4 separate regions of the Homo sapiens genome follow, and all the other regions are linked to region 4. Evidence: promoter capture Hi-C in 16 types of primary human blood cells and fetal thymus (Javierre and others, 2016). All regions are on one chromosome and are shown on one strand. Each heading gives the region's core, a stretch centred on a gene start or on the middle of the fragment in contact. The rest is flanking DNA. Distances are from core to core; before and after follow the strand shown.

Region 1 (3,357 bases), core at 197-2,696, 880 kb before region 4:
GGTGGTATTTGTTAGGGTGAAGGGCATATAGTAGGTAGGAGCCTGGCGCAGGAGCCAGGTTGTTTGGGTTTGAATACTAGCTCTACCCTTTGCTGGAGCTTGAAGGAGTCATTGAACCTTTCTGTGCCTCACTGATCTCACTTTCAAATGGAGATAAAAGCACCTTCCTCATAGGGCTGTTTGGGGGGATGAAAGAGTTGATAATGTAGAGAAAGCATTTGGAACACTGCCTGGCATGGTAAATGAACACTCAAATGGAAGCTGTTATGAATATTAAATACGTAGCTCCGGGGCCCAAGGGAGAGAATACAGTCATGGGTTCTTTGTTTCCGGTTGGGCTGGTAAAGCCCTTTCCTCATCCCTCTTTTCACTAGAGACAAACTAAAAACCATGGCTTTAAGCTGCAAAAAGCCTAAAACAAAACAGAACAGAACAACAAAATAAGGCGGGTTGGACAAGCTTGACTTAGATCATCACATCCCCTTTCCCATATATCCATCCTACACACTTTACAGATTATCCCATCTATCCTTCCTACACACTTTACAGATTAATCTTCCCTCTTTCTCTATTCAAAAATTCTTTAACAACTCCTATTAGGCCTGGGAAATTCACCAACTCACTACCCATCCCCGAGGCAGCCCATTCTGTCTTCAGGTAGTTGTTGGGACAGTAAGAAAATTCTTGTTAGGTAGCAACCAGCCTTTACTTCCATTTAGAATGCTAGTGCTGCCTTTAGAGCCATAAATAACACATGAACTACATCTTAGGGACTTCTACAGATTTTCAGACTAGGAAGCATCTGCTGATGAGCACCCGGTGTTCATCAAATAATACGATTTCCAGTTACTGTGGTGGTTTTTCTTTTCTGAATATGTTTGTGTCTCTCATAAAGTGATATCCAAACACAGAAGCCTTGATTTTGAAGACTGTGAATTTATTCATTCTGTCTTGCTTTCGGGCATAGCGACATGGGGAGTTAGAGAGTTATTACACATGTTGTGACATGTGCCCTACCTTCAAGGTGGGGGTTAAGTGTACACATGAGGCGTAAGTGTACACCAAATGACTGACAGCAAAGTATTCATATGAAAGATTATTAAACCATGATAAAATGCAATGCAAAGATACAGCTTCTTGTTTTACAGATGTTCTCTTAATGATTTCCTGGACTTTATATCATCTGTTACCATTTTCCAACTTCTCTTATACTTAGAATCCTTACGTTCTTACAGTTGAGACTGATTACATTAGTTTTTGATTCCTTTAAAACAAATAAGGAAAGATGCTTTTTTTAGTGTGTTTTTAATATAATATACTTACTGTAGAAATACATACTAAATCTTATTAGATGTCTCTGCTTCAGACCTTTGCATTGCAGCTGTAATTAAAGAATGCCATCTCGTCATACTGTCGCTGAAGAGCCAAACCTTAGATGCAGAAACAGATGTGTTATGTGCAGTCCTTTACAGCAATCACAACAGAATGGGCCGCCACAAACCCCATTTGGCCCTCAAACAGGTGAGGAAGCCCGGTAGGTGAGACCCAACCTGTTCACTTGAAAATGTAGATCACACTGCCACTTACTATATTGCTATTTATGGAAATCTCGTGGAAATCTCAGTAAATTACTTGTGTTTTATAGGCCTATAGCCCACAGTTACATGTGCACTTTCTTTTTTTTTCCTAAAAGCATTTCAGCATTTCAAAAAGTAATTTTTGTTAGAAAAGAAGTATGTTTAGATTCTTTCCCAGTCTTGTTTCTAATAGGCAAGTAAACATTTTCTTCATTATATACAATCTATAACAACAGTGCCTTTGCCCAGCTCAAAGATAAAGTGATTTGAGCAAGACAAAATGTTGGACATTAAGAAACAGTTCCCTGGGCATAATCAGAATGCTAAAATTATTTTTAAAAAAACTTGTCTACTTATTATGGGGTACATAATCTAATTGGTGGTATGTTAGAGTAAATGGGTACATAGCAAGTTGTGGTGTAAACTGGTTTCATGTAATGTTTGGAGCTTAAGACAAAATTGGGCCCTCCAGCTCAGGGGCTATACCATAGAGTAGAGCCTCTCTTAAGCTGGCTTCCTGATATGCTCATTCATTCATTCACTTAATTCTGCAAGTATTTTCTGGAAGTTCAGAAGGCTATCCATTGTGTGACAGGGCTACCTTGCAAGTGTTTTTGAACTTTCTGTGTGCCAGGCATTCTGCTTAGTGCTGTGTATAGAGGAGTGAAAAAGGTAGACACAGTCTCTAACCTTATAGATGCATGCTTTCTGGTTAGTTTTCTACCCCTAGTACTTAAAGCAAACAGGGTGAAGATTTCATCAAAGAAAGATCTGGGACCATGGTCTTTCCCTAAATTTTCCATTCTAGGGTGGCTTTTATCTTTTTCGGAGTCTTTTTGATCCAAAAGCAAGCTTGCTAACCCTCAAAGTGAATATATTTCTCCTTCTAGCTTCTGGGTTGTGAATAATCACCCCGTCATCAAAATTTGGCATTCTCTAGTCTCTCTCTCTTACGTAGCTCTCCCATCCAGGCAGTCCATAAGACAAAACTTCCTCTGCATCTGGTCCCCTCTTCAGTTCTGGCTGCCATTTTCCTTTCTTAGACCTTGTCAACTTTTAGTTGTCTTACTATCATAACTGATGTTTCCTCCTTCAGCTTTTCCTAAGTTCTGGCATATTCTAAATATTAAAACCAGGTTAATCATCTGAAAACACAACTTTGATTTTTAGTCGTTCTCCATTGTGTCCTGAGTAAAGACCAAACTTCTTAGTTTGGCTTACGAGATCTGTGATCTGGCCTCTTCAGTCTTCTTAGTTCGGGCTTCTCTCTTGCGTTCAGATAGATTATATTCCAGCCAACCTGGACTCAACACACCTGCATGCTCACTATGTTTGTTCCTGCTTCTGAGTCTGCTTACCTGGTCCTGTATGTTTAGAATGCCCAGCCTCACCATGTCTGCCTGTTAAAGGCCTTCCTATCCTCTAAGTCCCATTTTAAGCCTTTCTGGCAGTGATAATCTGTGTTATAGTAATCTCATTTTAAGTTGTATTTTTCTGATTATTACTGAAGTTGCTTTTTTTTTTTTTTTTTTAAATTCTTGGCTATTTGGGCCTCCTCTTTGTACTTATAGCATTTAATATAGTCTGTGTCATGGTAAAGTTATTTGTGTATATATTTTATATTCCATGTGATCCCTGAAGTAGGAAACATGTTTTATGCTTATGTTACTGCTGCAGCTGCTATTACCACTTCTACTACTGCCTTACAACTGCTTAATATTTCACAGTTTTCAGAGAACTTTCATGTAAGTACTAGAATTGGCCTGTCTCTAAACATTCC
Region 2 (3,642 bases), core at 137-2,636, 860 kb before region 4:
TAGTGCAGAAAGGTCAAAGTATGGGTGATTATTACAAAAATCAATTAAAAATAAAACCTTAATCCACCAGATATTCCTGGTGAGTTTCTGTAAAATTAAATTTCCTGGCAAATCATGCTTTTTAGTCATAAAAGATGCTAATGGCAGGAGTGTGGTGTCATGATACATATATTGGTTTATGTCCATGGTTCCTTTCTCATAACTCCCATAGCCCTTGTTACGATCATTTGTTATAATGTTGGATATGTTAGGCATCAGGAAACAAAATCTCTCTGACCTCCTGCCTTCCATTCACCTGCTCCAAGACAAGACTTGTAATCTTCTCTCACCTTTCTGATTGTGGTCATATGACCCTCATTCCAGAGAGGGTCCCACCTCATACCCTGGGGGAAGGGATGCTGATGTTATGAAGCTTCCATAAAAGCCCAGGAAGACTGGGTTTGGAGAGCTTCCAAATAGCTGAACACAGGTAGGTTTCCAAAGGGTGGCATGCCCAAGGAGGACATGGAGGTTCTGTGCATCTTCATTATATCCTTTGTAATATACTTTATAATACCATCAGAAAACATGTTTCCCTGAGTTCTGTGAGCCACTCCAGCAATTAAACCCAAAGAGGGGGTAGTTGGAACCCCAACTTGAAGCCAGTCTAGATATTCTAGAGGCCCAAAATTGTGACTAGTGTCTGAAGCCGGGTGGGAGGAGTCGTCTTGGGGACTGAATCCTCAATCTGTGGGATTGTGTCCACTGGTTGTTGGTGAAGACAAAAACCCCTACACATTTAGCCACAGAAGTCTTCTGTGTTAATTGTTGTGGTATGAGAGCAGAGGAAAAACATGGTTCCAGTGTTTTTCCCACAGTGAGAAGCAGAAAGTGTGTGGTTTCTAATGACTTGTGAACCCCTCCGCAAATGGGAGTCTTTCCTCATAAAGGCAAATGTTCTGATATTTAAAAGGAGATACAGATATAACTTTTCTATTCCAATTCCTTTTCCAACGAAGAAAGTAATATTTCCTTTCAGTTAAAATTGAGGAAAATATATGATTTCATAAACTAGTATCTGCGATACCAAATAAAGAATACTATTATTTAGTTTGGCAATATTTAGGCATTTTTACTAGGCAGACTATCAATCCTTTGACTTCTCATAACTATAAATCATCTCTAATGCTTCATAGGGCTTTTGCAGACCCCAAGAATTCCAAGACCCCAAGAATAAAACAAAAGTGGCTGACTAGTAATTTGGTGTGATTTGTACTAAACTCCACTGTTACATATTAGTGGCTGACATCTTTTTGAAAGCAAATTAGTTATTGGGTTCTTCACTTTTCTTTGGAAAGAAACTTTAAGAGTGCCATTTTTTCTGGAAGTCTCACAAAGCAAAATTAATGTGGATACCAATCTACAATTCTGGTATTCTAGTCTAGGTCAAAAGACCAAGAATACTGGTAAGAAATTCCCAGAAGAAATTTTGTTTGCTTTAAAAATATAAAAATCCTACTTGTGTGTGCTGGAGGCTGCTATGTTCCTGGAACAATTTTAAAGTTTTAAATTAGTTAAGCAACTTTTTAAGTTGCAGTTTTATTCACATTCTTATAAGTACTATCTGCCACGCTGCTGTTAAAGAGCTACTAACTTTTTCTGAACAAATGTTTATGTTGCCATAAAAAGAAAAAAATATGAACAGTATCTAGGAACATTAAATGAACAGCCTAAAGAAACCTTTACTTTGACTATAATTTTCAAAACATAGCTGAGTGACAGAAAAGAGAATAAAAGTGCCATAGAACTTCTTTTAATATTAATGGATGATTAATTGAAAAGATTATTCAAAAGGCACTCTCCTTTATCTTTTGAGGCAACACAAGCTCAATTGTTAAAAGGTGCATGTTCACACAGATGCACGTAGAACTGATATTTCTAATTGCAACCATGATTCAAAGGAAGTACTTACCACATAAGGTAATGCAAATTCTTCACACATTTCTATGGCAATATTGTCTGTTTTTTGAATTCCAACAACGCTATCCACTAATAAAAATGTTCTCTTCAAGCTATAAGCATGTAGAAAAGAAGATTAATGGCAATATAAAATATACCCATTCATTTATCCCCTCTTCCTTACTGTACTAAGAAATTCTTCTTTGAATAATTCTCATTCCAAAATTAAAACATTTCTTTAGGCAACAGGAATTCTCAATTTGCCAGAAGTTTATCCTGCAGTCCAGTAGGTCTCAATGCTATTTACTTTCAATAACTAAATTCACTAAATATTAATTTAAATCAATAAGGATATATTGGATATAAGACATTCTGCCTGGGACTTGATATATAATGAGTGAGTTCCCTCCTCTAAAAGCTTAAACTCGAGGAGGAGAAAGAGATACAAATCAAATTAACCATAAATTACAGATTATAAATTATAGGAACCATAAATTATAAAAAATTAACCATAAGTTATAAATTTTTTTTTTTGTTTTTTTAGACAGAGCCTCATTCTGTTGCCCAGGGTAGAATGCAGTGGCACAATCTTGGCTCACTAACCTCTGCCTCCTGGGTTTGAGTGATTGTCCTGCCTCAGTCTCCTGAGGAGTTGGGATTACAGGCATGTGCCACCATGCCTGGCTGATTTTTTTTTTTTTGTATTTTTAGTAGAGTTGAGGTTTTGCCATGTTGCCAGGCTGGTCTCGAACTCCTGACCTCAAGTGATCCGCCGACCTCGGCCTCCCAAAGTGCTGAGATTACAGGCGTGAGCCGGCGTGCCTGGTCTATATGGGAATTTTTAAATATTACCCTAACACTAACAGATAACAGAAACCAGACACATTATATCTTGCATTTTATGTAAATATTTGATTTTACCCCTTATGTAAAGCTACAACAAACAAGATACATTTTTTTCATTTCAAAAGATTAACATCAATTTTCTATATATTGTGCAATTCTTAGAACTATCACTTGATTACATAAGGAGACAAAAAAGAGATATCATTTGCAGCAAATGTGATGTCTGAAGTATTTTAAGAATGATCAGAATTTACTGATTTTAACCAACAATTTTCATTTTCAAAATTAGCCAGGTAAGAGTTTGGTTTTAAAAAAAATTAATGGGCCAGGTGCGGTGGTTCATGCCTGTAATCTCACACTTTGGGAGGGCAAGGCGGGTGGATCACCTGAGGTCAGGAGTTCGAGACCAGCCTGGCCAACACAGTGAAACCCTGTCTCTACTAAAAATACAAAAATGAGCCGGGCATGGTGGCGTGCACCTGTAGTCTCAGCTACTCAGGAGGCTGAGGCGGGAGAATCACTTGAACTCTGGAGAAGAAGGTTGCAGTGATCCTAGATTGCATGACTGCATTCCAGCCTGGGTCACAGAACGAGACTGTCTCAAAAAAAAAAATGAAAAAAAAAATGCTGAAGTACACTTTACTCTCAATCTCAATTTGGGAAAACACTTAAATTTAATATTAAGGGTAAGCTAAACCACAGACAGAAAACAAGCAAGCAGTATATACCTTGGTCCTAAATATTGTATTATAGAATATTATGAGAATAAAATGGACCTTATAAAATAAGTCATTTGATAAAACTGAAGTGTTAATCATGTGTATAATACTCTACTGATGAAAACATGCTTTGGGGTTA
Region 3 (3,609 bases), core at 456-2,955, 840 kb before region 4:
GACCAATTTTGAGCAGGTAAGGAAGAAAGAGTGAATTAGTACATAAATAGAGTCAGTAGGGGTTAGGAACCTGGGAGATGTATTGGAGACAAAACAGAGTTACCACCTTCAAAAAAGTAGATAGTAAAGCAGAGACTAATTAGCCACATAGTTTAAGAAGTAGACTTTGGAGTGAGATTTCTTGGGCTTGAATCCTGTTTCTATCACTTATCAGCTGTGTGGCTTTTGACAATTTACATAACCTCTCTGCTTTGAGTTTCCTCAATGGTAAGTGGTATTTACTATATAGGATTGTTGAGATAATTAAATTAGGTAATATTTATAAACTGCTTAGAACAAGATCAGGGTGTTAAGCTTAGGGCTTGACAAATACTTGCTATGGATCTGACCAGTGAGATTTACAGTTGATATTTAGCTAAATATAAAATGTGATTACTAATTTCTCTACTCTGATTTTGCTTATTTTGATACTGCACACATTTGATTTTCAAACATCTATTTCTCAATTTTCCTTTTTGTATAATCTGTAAAATTATAATAAAAAATAATCATTAATTCCAATATGATATATTTTTTCTAACTTTTTAAGAAGACTTTTTATACATTGACGTAGATCAACCATATATTAGGAGTAAAAATTTTCAAGAAAAATCAATATAATAGTAGGTATAAAAATAGAAGTATGCATTTTTTGAGGCTCTTTTAAGTTACTGTTTAGTCTATTTAATGATTGTCCATGGAGGAAGATACAGGATTTCAGATGAGTCTTGAGAGCATGGGTCAATGAAGGTTACAGAGAGGTAAATTGGAAAATAGAAAATGGAATATGCCCAGGAAAGCAGTCTTTTTATGCAACTGTATGTTGAATTATAGCATTTCTGTGGTAATTCATTAGATTCAGATCTGTAGTTATTGTACAAGGGAGCAGAGAGGAAGTAAAGACAAGAGTGGAGTGCTGTAGAGTTTGAGTCCCTTGAAATTCTTTAGACTATTCGGTATTGTTCTTTTTACCTCTGTGAAATTGGCATGTTACCACTTGGCTAGCAGTAGGACAGAGTAGATTGAGGGAATTAGGACTAAGTGTTTCGCTAGCATATTTGTGTGAGCGTGTGTGTGTGTGTTATGTTTGTGTGTGCACACATGCAAGTGTATAGAAGGGTAAGTCAGGCCAGATATCTAAGCCAGAGAGTTCACCAAAAGTAACAGTGACAAGGCAAGTAGTTATTGGCCCATTTTGCAAGAATGCACATCCAGAAAATTCAGCTATGGTAGGAAGGGCAGGCAGGTGCTGAAGTTCTCGGCAGTCAAGACTCAAATATAAGAGGTGAATGAGTCGGCAATGGTACTGGGGAGCAAAGGGTCCCGGGAACGAGAAGTCAGGAATAAAAGTCCATAGAATCTTTGCAGTAAGTATTCAAGAGCCATGCAAATCTTCTACATAATGGGGAGGAATCCCAAGAGGAAGGCTGCAACACTTCATCTTAAATGGTTTCAGTGTGGCTAAGTCTGAATCTGACATTGGAGAGAAAGATATACACCTGATTGGAAGAAGTTTACTTCAACAACATTTATAGTTATTACATCAATTTTCAGTTTATTGCAATTGATAAATTGAGTAAACCAGCCATGCTGGTTTGGGGGCATTATGGCCTAAAGTAGTTCTAATTTACTAAAGTTTCTCTGTCTTTTTGTTTTGGCTACAACATTAACTGGCATTACATTGTCCTGTTTGTTTCTCTTATGCTATGATTCTTAACTGGTATTATTGAAGGAGAATTGGAAAACTGGTAGAGTAAAAGGTTTGGGTTTCTGGTTTGAATGACACCTGTTTCTTGATCCTTTTTCACTCTTTTGCTTTGCTTCCTGGGTCCTGTGCCCAAGGGCCGCAACCAGGGAGAATTTGGGGCCTTTAGATTTTTTAGAGAGGTGTATTTACCAGACACATCTTTCTCTTATTATACTGACTTTCATGGCATGTCTTTAGTGGATGATTATGTTAACAAACTTTTAGTCCCTTTATTGTTTTAAACATTCATGGTCCATAAAAGGTAGAAGGTGGGAGTTGAGAGGTTACAGGCATGTGATTTGGGGGTGGAGAGGATGAGGGACCAGGGAGAGAAACTGTCATCCTGCCAAATCTATTTAGTGAATTTTATGGTTTTTGATACCCATCACTTGATTCTTAAACTGCTGATTGCAGATTGTGGTCTGACCTCAGGTGAGTGCATTGGAGTGTGTCTATGAAAGTTGTTGCCTGAAATTTCAAAGTAGAGGAGTTGAGTGAAAAGAACACAGGGCTACGAAATATAACACATTTTATTCCCAGCCGTGCCAATAAGTTGTTTTGAGGCCACAGGCCATTTAGCCCTTCTGTGGTTTAGTTTTGGCTATGTCATTGAGCAGATATTAAAATAAATGATCTCCAAGAATTTTTGATGACATGAGAAAAAGCTAATGTCAATATAATATAAACAGATACAGACTTGAGTAAGAAACTTTCCCAGTATCACTGGACTAGTAATTGCACAACAGAGACTTAACCCTATGTCTATCTGTATCCTAAGCGAGTGTGAATTTTAACTTTAACTTCTCTCTGCTCACTGCAACCTCTGCCTCCTGGGTTCAAGCGATTCTCATGCCTCAGCCTCCCAAGTAGCTGGGACTACAGATGAGTGCCATCACACCTGGCTAATTTTTTTTTTTTTTTTTAAGTAGAGATGGAGTTTGGAGTTTTGTCATGTTGCCCAGGCTGGTCTCGAACTCCTGAGCTCAGGCAATCTGCCCGCCTCGGCCTCCCAGTGTCCTAAGATTACAGACATGAGCCACTACTCCCGGCCAACTTTCACTTCTATGTAGTGGAAAACCAGAATATTATCTGTATTTTAAATGATGTATTCTCACTAATTTTCCGACACCTGGTGAAACATTAGACAGAAGAGAAGACATTTTTGTTTTGGTCTTCCCATTGTCACAGCTCATACCCTTAAGTGTTCCATGCCCTCAAGGATCTGGTTTCACTGTCTTCATCAAATTAATTAACTGGAAAAAAAAGCTTGAGAAGGGGAAGGGGGGAAATATTTATAATGTTTGGCAAGAAGGAAGATGAAACTGCTAACTGAGAAAAAAAATGCATGCTGTTTAATCTTTTTCCTGTTTGCAATGTTTTCTTCCCCTTCCTGTACAGTTTTGCCTTGGGGCAGAAAATTCTCAGCACATAGAAGATTTTTCCCTCTCTCAGACATAACTTAAAAGCATAGTAACATAGTAACTAGCAACAGTAAGGAAGAGGTTTTTTTGTTGTTGTTGTTGTTTTTTTTTTTTGGTTAGGGGGAGTCTGAATTCCAGATGTGTGGCAACTAAGAGATGGGTGATTATTTGTAATTTGGTTAAAATGATCAGTCTAATTTTCCAAAGGTGAAACTGAATGGCAATAAGTACTGAGTTCTGATAAACAGAATGCCCTCACCCCCAACAAGGTAGATACCTATGTCCGAATTACCGAAACCTGTGAATGTTACCTTGTGTGGCAAAAAGGACTTTGCAGATGTGATTAAATTAAGATCTTGAAATTAGATCATGTTGGATTATTTGGGTGGACCAAAAATAATC
Region 4 (3,682 bases), core at 11-2,510:
TTACTTGGCCACCACCATGCTCAAACTCTCTGTGGGAGCGGGAGCACGCAGGCAAGCGGGTGCCAGGGCTTCGATGAGCACTTTTGGGCTCCAGCCCAACAGCAGCATTTAGGGATGTGTTACAATTCATGCTCTTTTAGCAGTTGCCATCCGTGGACAGCTAAGTGTTAACCCACTCAATGGAGAGTCAGGGTGGCAGCCTTTTACACCCTGCCCTGTTGGTACCCAGGTTCTTGTTCAGCATCCAGGAAGAATCAGGTTGCATGAATGGTTTGAAAGTTGATGGATGTGGACGATTTTATTAAATGGTGGAAGTGGCTCTCAGTGGAAGGGGAGCTGCAAAGGGGATGGTGCAGGAAGAAAGTGACCTTTCCCTGAAGTCTGCTGTCTCTGGCCGGGCTCCTCCCTGAAGTCATGCCACCTGAAGTTAAGCCACATCTCTGACACTCAGTTGCTTCTTCTCCTCTTGATGTTCAGCCGCTTGTCTGTCTGCCAGCTGAGGTCTGGGGTTTATATGGGCACGGGATAGGGGGGCTGGACAGGCTAAAGAGTAACATTTGGGCAGGATAACAGGGATAACTGTTCTCATTTAGGGCTTCGGTTTCAAGGCTTGAGGGTGGGACCTTTGCCAGTGAACCACCCTCTTCTACCCAGTAAAGCCCTGCCTTCTGTCCTTATCACTTCTTTCCAAAAAGGCTGTCATTTTGCATTCTCATCAGCAATGCATGAGACTTCCAGTTGCTTTGCATACCTTGCCATACTTGATATTGTCAGGGTTTTATAGCCATTGTAATAAGTATGTAAAAGTGTTCCATTGTGGATTTGATTTACACTTCCCTAATAACTACAATGTTTAGCATCTTTTAATGTTCATCTGTATAGTTCCTTTGGTGAAATGTCTGTTCAAATATTTTGCCCATTTTGTTACTGGGTGTTTGTTTTCAGATTTGAGAGTTGTTGATACTATATTTTCTACAGGTCTGTGGCTTGACTGTTTTAACCTCCTTCTGACTTTTCTAAGAAGACAACGTGATTTATAAACGTAAATATCTGTAGTGGAAAAACTCCCATGGCCCATCTGTAATTTCAGACCTGGGATTCCCCAGAGGTTCGAAGCTCTCATTGACGGGTAGTTGCTGGTTATGGCCAACAGCCAGGTTGGTTCAGGCACTGACATGTTAGGACATTCTGCACATGCGTGCCTCTAACACTCCTCCCCCAGCCTCTTCCTTCCCTCTGCAGAGACACCCTTCTCCTTTCTGCTGTCTCTGCACGGGTGGCCAGAGCCACACAGCCCTTTCTTTAAGTCAGGAGTTGCCCTGTCAGAGCACAAGGCAAGAAGGAAGTGGTAAAGGGACGGAGGGGAAGCCCTGAGAGGACTGAGAGGATGGGAAATTCTCTGCTGAGAGAAAACAGGTAAGTCTAGACTCCCTGTGGGAGAGCAGAGGAGATGGGACAGGACAATACAGCAAGGAAGAGAAAAAGAAAGCTAGTATACAGTTAGCACACTAAGTTGGGGTAGAAAGTAGTTGGGTAAGGAAACTGCCAAGCCTTCAGTGCCTACTCTGTGCCAGATACCACATTAAATTTCCCATAGGTTTTGCCTTCTCCCAAGAATCATGGTGAGCAGCTGATGGAGAATAGCTGAAAGGTGGAAAGACTTTACCAAGGAAGGTCTATATAATAGGTTACCACCTAAGAAATGAAACAACTTTCTGAAAGCCCGGGAAGGAGATGCTCTCCTGAGCTCCTCATGCTCCACAAGGAGGTCAAAATCACCACCCTCTTTCAGCCACTATTTTAAGTTTGAAATAAACAGCAAGCTTCCTGCCACCTTGAGTCTTCCTTTGATGTGCACTCCCTGCAAGCAGGTAAGCAGAGGTCATCTAGATTAAATAGGCACAGAACTCAGATTTACTTTCTGGACCTCAGCCTCTTTATTTTAAGTAGAAATAATAATACAATATCTACCTTAGAGAGTTCTAGTGTGTATTGTGCTAGCATAGTGCCTGACATAAAGTAGGGTTCAAAATTAGAAGATATTTTCTGCTTTCTTTTTCTGACCATCATCTTCCTTAATATCAAAGCCGTGCCACCAAAATAGTGCCACCACAGACAAGGTAATCTCTAGGGTATAAAGTGGGGTGATCTAGAGAGAGTAAGCGAGCCAGAGGGGGTCTTCACAGGGTTATGTTTGGAATCCCTGGTCTCAGTTCATGCTACTGGAGAGTGGAACACAGGAAAAAATGGTAGCCCACTTTTGACCACTTGCCGAAAAGAGGATTGGTGGTCCTGTGGAATATCTCATGTCCCTTCCTAAGAATCATGTTGTCTGAGACTTCTCTACCCTGGGTTGTCACAGCCCCTTGTCAATCTTCTACTCTAGCATTGTTCTAACAATTATATAAATTACTATTTTTATTACTAGATATGAGATGCTCAAATGTAGTGATTGTTTCTTATTTATCTTTGAATTCCTGGTTCCTGGCATTGTTTCTGGCATATCACGTGCACTGAATAAGTGCAAAAAAACTTTAAAAAAATTTTTTTACTTTAAAATTTTGTTTTATGTAAGAAAAAAAACCTTTTTCCAAGGTGCACACATCTTATGCTATTTGGACTTCTTATGGTTTTTTATTTATTTTAAAGAAAATTCGATTTTAAATCTAGAAAGCTTTTTGGTTTCTGCCATTGCATTCATGCTTAAAATTCTTTGCTCTTCCTAAGATAAGACAAATCAACTCACATAAGTTTTGATTTTGTTATTTTACATTTGGCAACATATATTCAATATATGGTGTCAGATGTAAATTTTTTTCCAAATAGTTGATCAGTTTGCCCAACATCTTTATTTCTATGATGATTTAAAAGGTCTCCCTTGAACCAAGTGCAGTGGCATGCACCTGTAGTCCCAGCTACTCAGGAGGCTGAGGCAGGAGGATTGCTTGAGCCCAGGAGTTTGAGGGCAGCCTGAACAACATAGCAAGACCCAGTCTTAAAAATAAATTCATTAAAATAATTAAATAAAATGTTTCCGTTAACGTATTCAAAAGTCTTGTATATATTGGTATCTAATTTTCATTGTCACCCCAACACCCAGTTATCATCTAGTCAGCATACCCCCCCAACCGTGTCTCTCCAGATCAAATAAGCTAAGAAGTCAGGGAAATTTTGCACAGAATAGAATGGCACTCATCCCTTCATGAGAGGAGCTCAGTCTCAGAGGAAGAGACCTGCCAGCAGCAAACCCAGCTTTTCCCCCTTAGTGGCTGTGGATCCTCAGACCAGTTGCCTAGCATTTTGGGCCTCAGTTTCCTCATTAGTATAAAAAATATAATGATAATATCTATCTTATGGATTTATTCTGGGATTAAATGAAATATAACACACAAAATGATTGGCATATAGTAAGTAGTGTTTAAGTGTTAGTTTCTTTATCCTCATACTCCCAATTCCCAACAAGTGGGAAGATGGGTATACAGAAATCTAACCCAAACAATGAACCAATTTATTTTCTTTATTCAATCCTTTTCTTCTCCTTCTGTCCCTTGTTCTGGGCCTCCATGCTTTCTGTGAAAGATGGTGTGATTTACACAAGACAAAGCCAGTACCTTTCCCCATTACTTGTGCATAGCTCCTGGAACTGCACCAAAGAGATGGTAGCTGAGGACCTCAGGCCTCT

Evidence for each region. Contacts are between HindIII fragments. The CHiCAGO score rates a contact against its expected background, and 5 or more counts as called.
Region 1: a fragment that was not itself captured here is called in contact with the fragment with the promoter of GCSAM in region 4 in 1 of 17 cell types (fetal thymus); the score reaches 5.9 in fetal thymus.
Region 2: a fragment that was not itself captured here is called in contact with the fragment with the promoter of GCSAM in region 4 in 1 of 17 cell types (total B cells); the score reaches 5.4 in total B cells.
Region 3: a fragment that was not itself captured here is called in contact with the fragment with the promoter of GCSAM in region 4 in 1 of 17 cell types (non-activated CD4 T cells); the score reaches 5.9 in non-activated CD4 T cells.

The regions. Positions count from the first base shown.
Region 1 is chr3:113,015,612-113,018,968 of GRCh38, reverse strand. RMP64 (ribonuclease MRP subunit p64) reads left to right here. Exons shown (of 9, transcript NM_015412.4): 2 at 1,367-1,521. Among named protein-coding and RNA genes, the nearest start is that of NEPRO-AS1, 2.2 kb to the left of the region's middle. The HindIII fragment of the contact is 1,970 bases long and covers 462-2,431 here.
Region 2 is chr3:112,995,301-112,998,942 of GRCh38, reverse strand. GTPBP8 (GTP binding protein 8) reads right to left here. Exons shown (of 6, transcript NM_014170.4): 4 at 1,952-2,051. Among named protein-coding and RNA genes, the nearest start is that of GTPBP8, 6.1 kb to the right of the region's middle. The HindIII fragment of the contact is 1,944 bases long and covers 415-2,358 here.
Region 3 is chr3:112,975,760-112,979,368 of GRCh38, reverse strand. No RefSeq gene overlaps it. Among named protein-coding and RNA genes, the nearest start is that of CD200R1, 2.5 kb to the right of the region's middle. The HindIII fragment of the contact is 2,698 bases long and covers 357-3,054 here.
Region 4 is chr3:112,130,826-112,134,507 of GRCh38, reverse strand. It overlaps GCSAM (germinal center associated signaling and motility), which reads left to right and starts at 1,260. Exons shown (of 6, transcript NM_152785.5): 1 at 1,260-1,416. The coding sequence starts at 1,388. It overlaps TBILA (TGF-beta induced lncRNA), which reads right to left and starts at 1,085. Exons shown (of 1, transcript NR_157393.1): 1 at 1-1,085. It also overlaps a transcript of C3orf52 not described here. RefSeq lists enhancers at 935-1,114, 1,595-1,654. The HindIII fragment of the contact is 3,922 bases long and covers 1-1,825 here.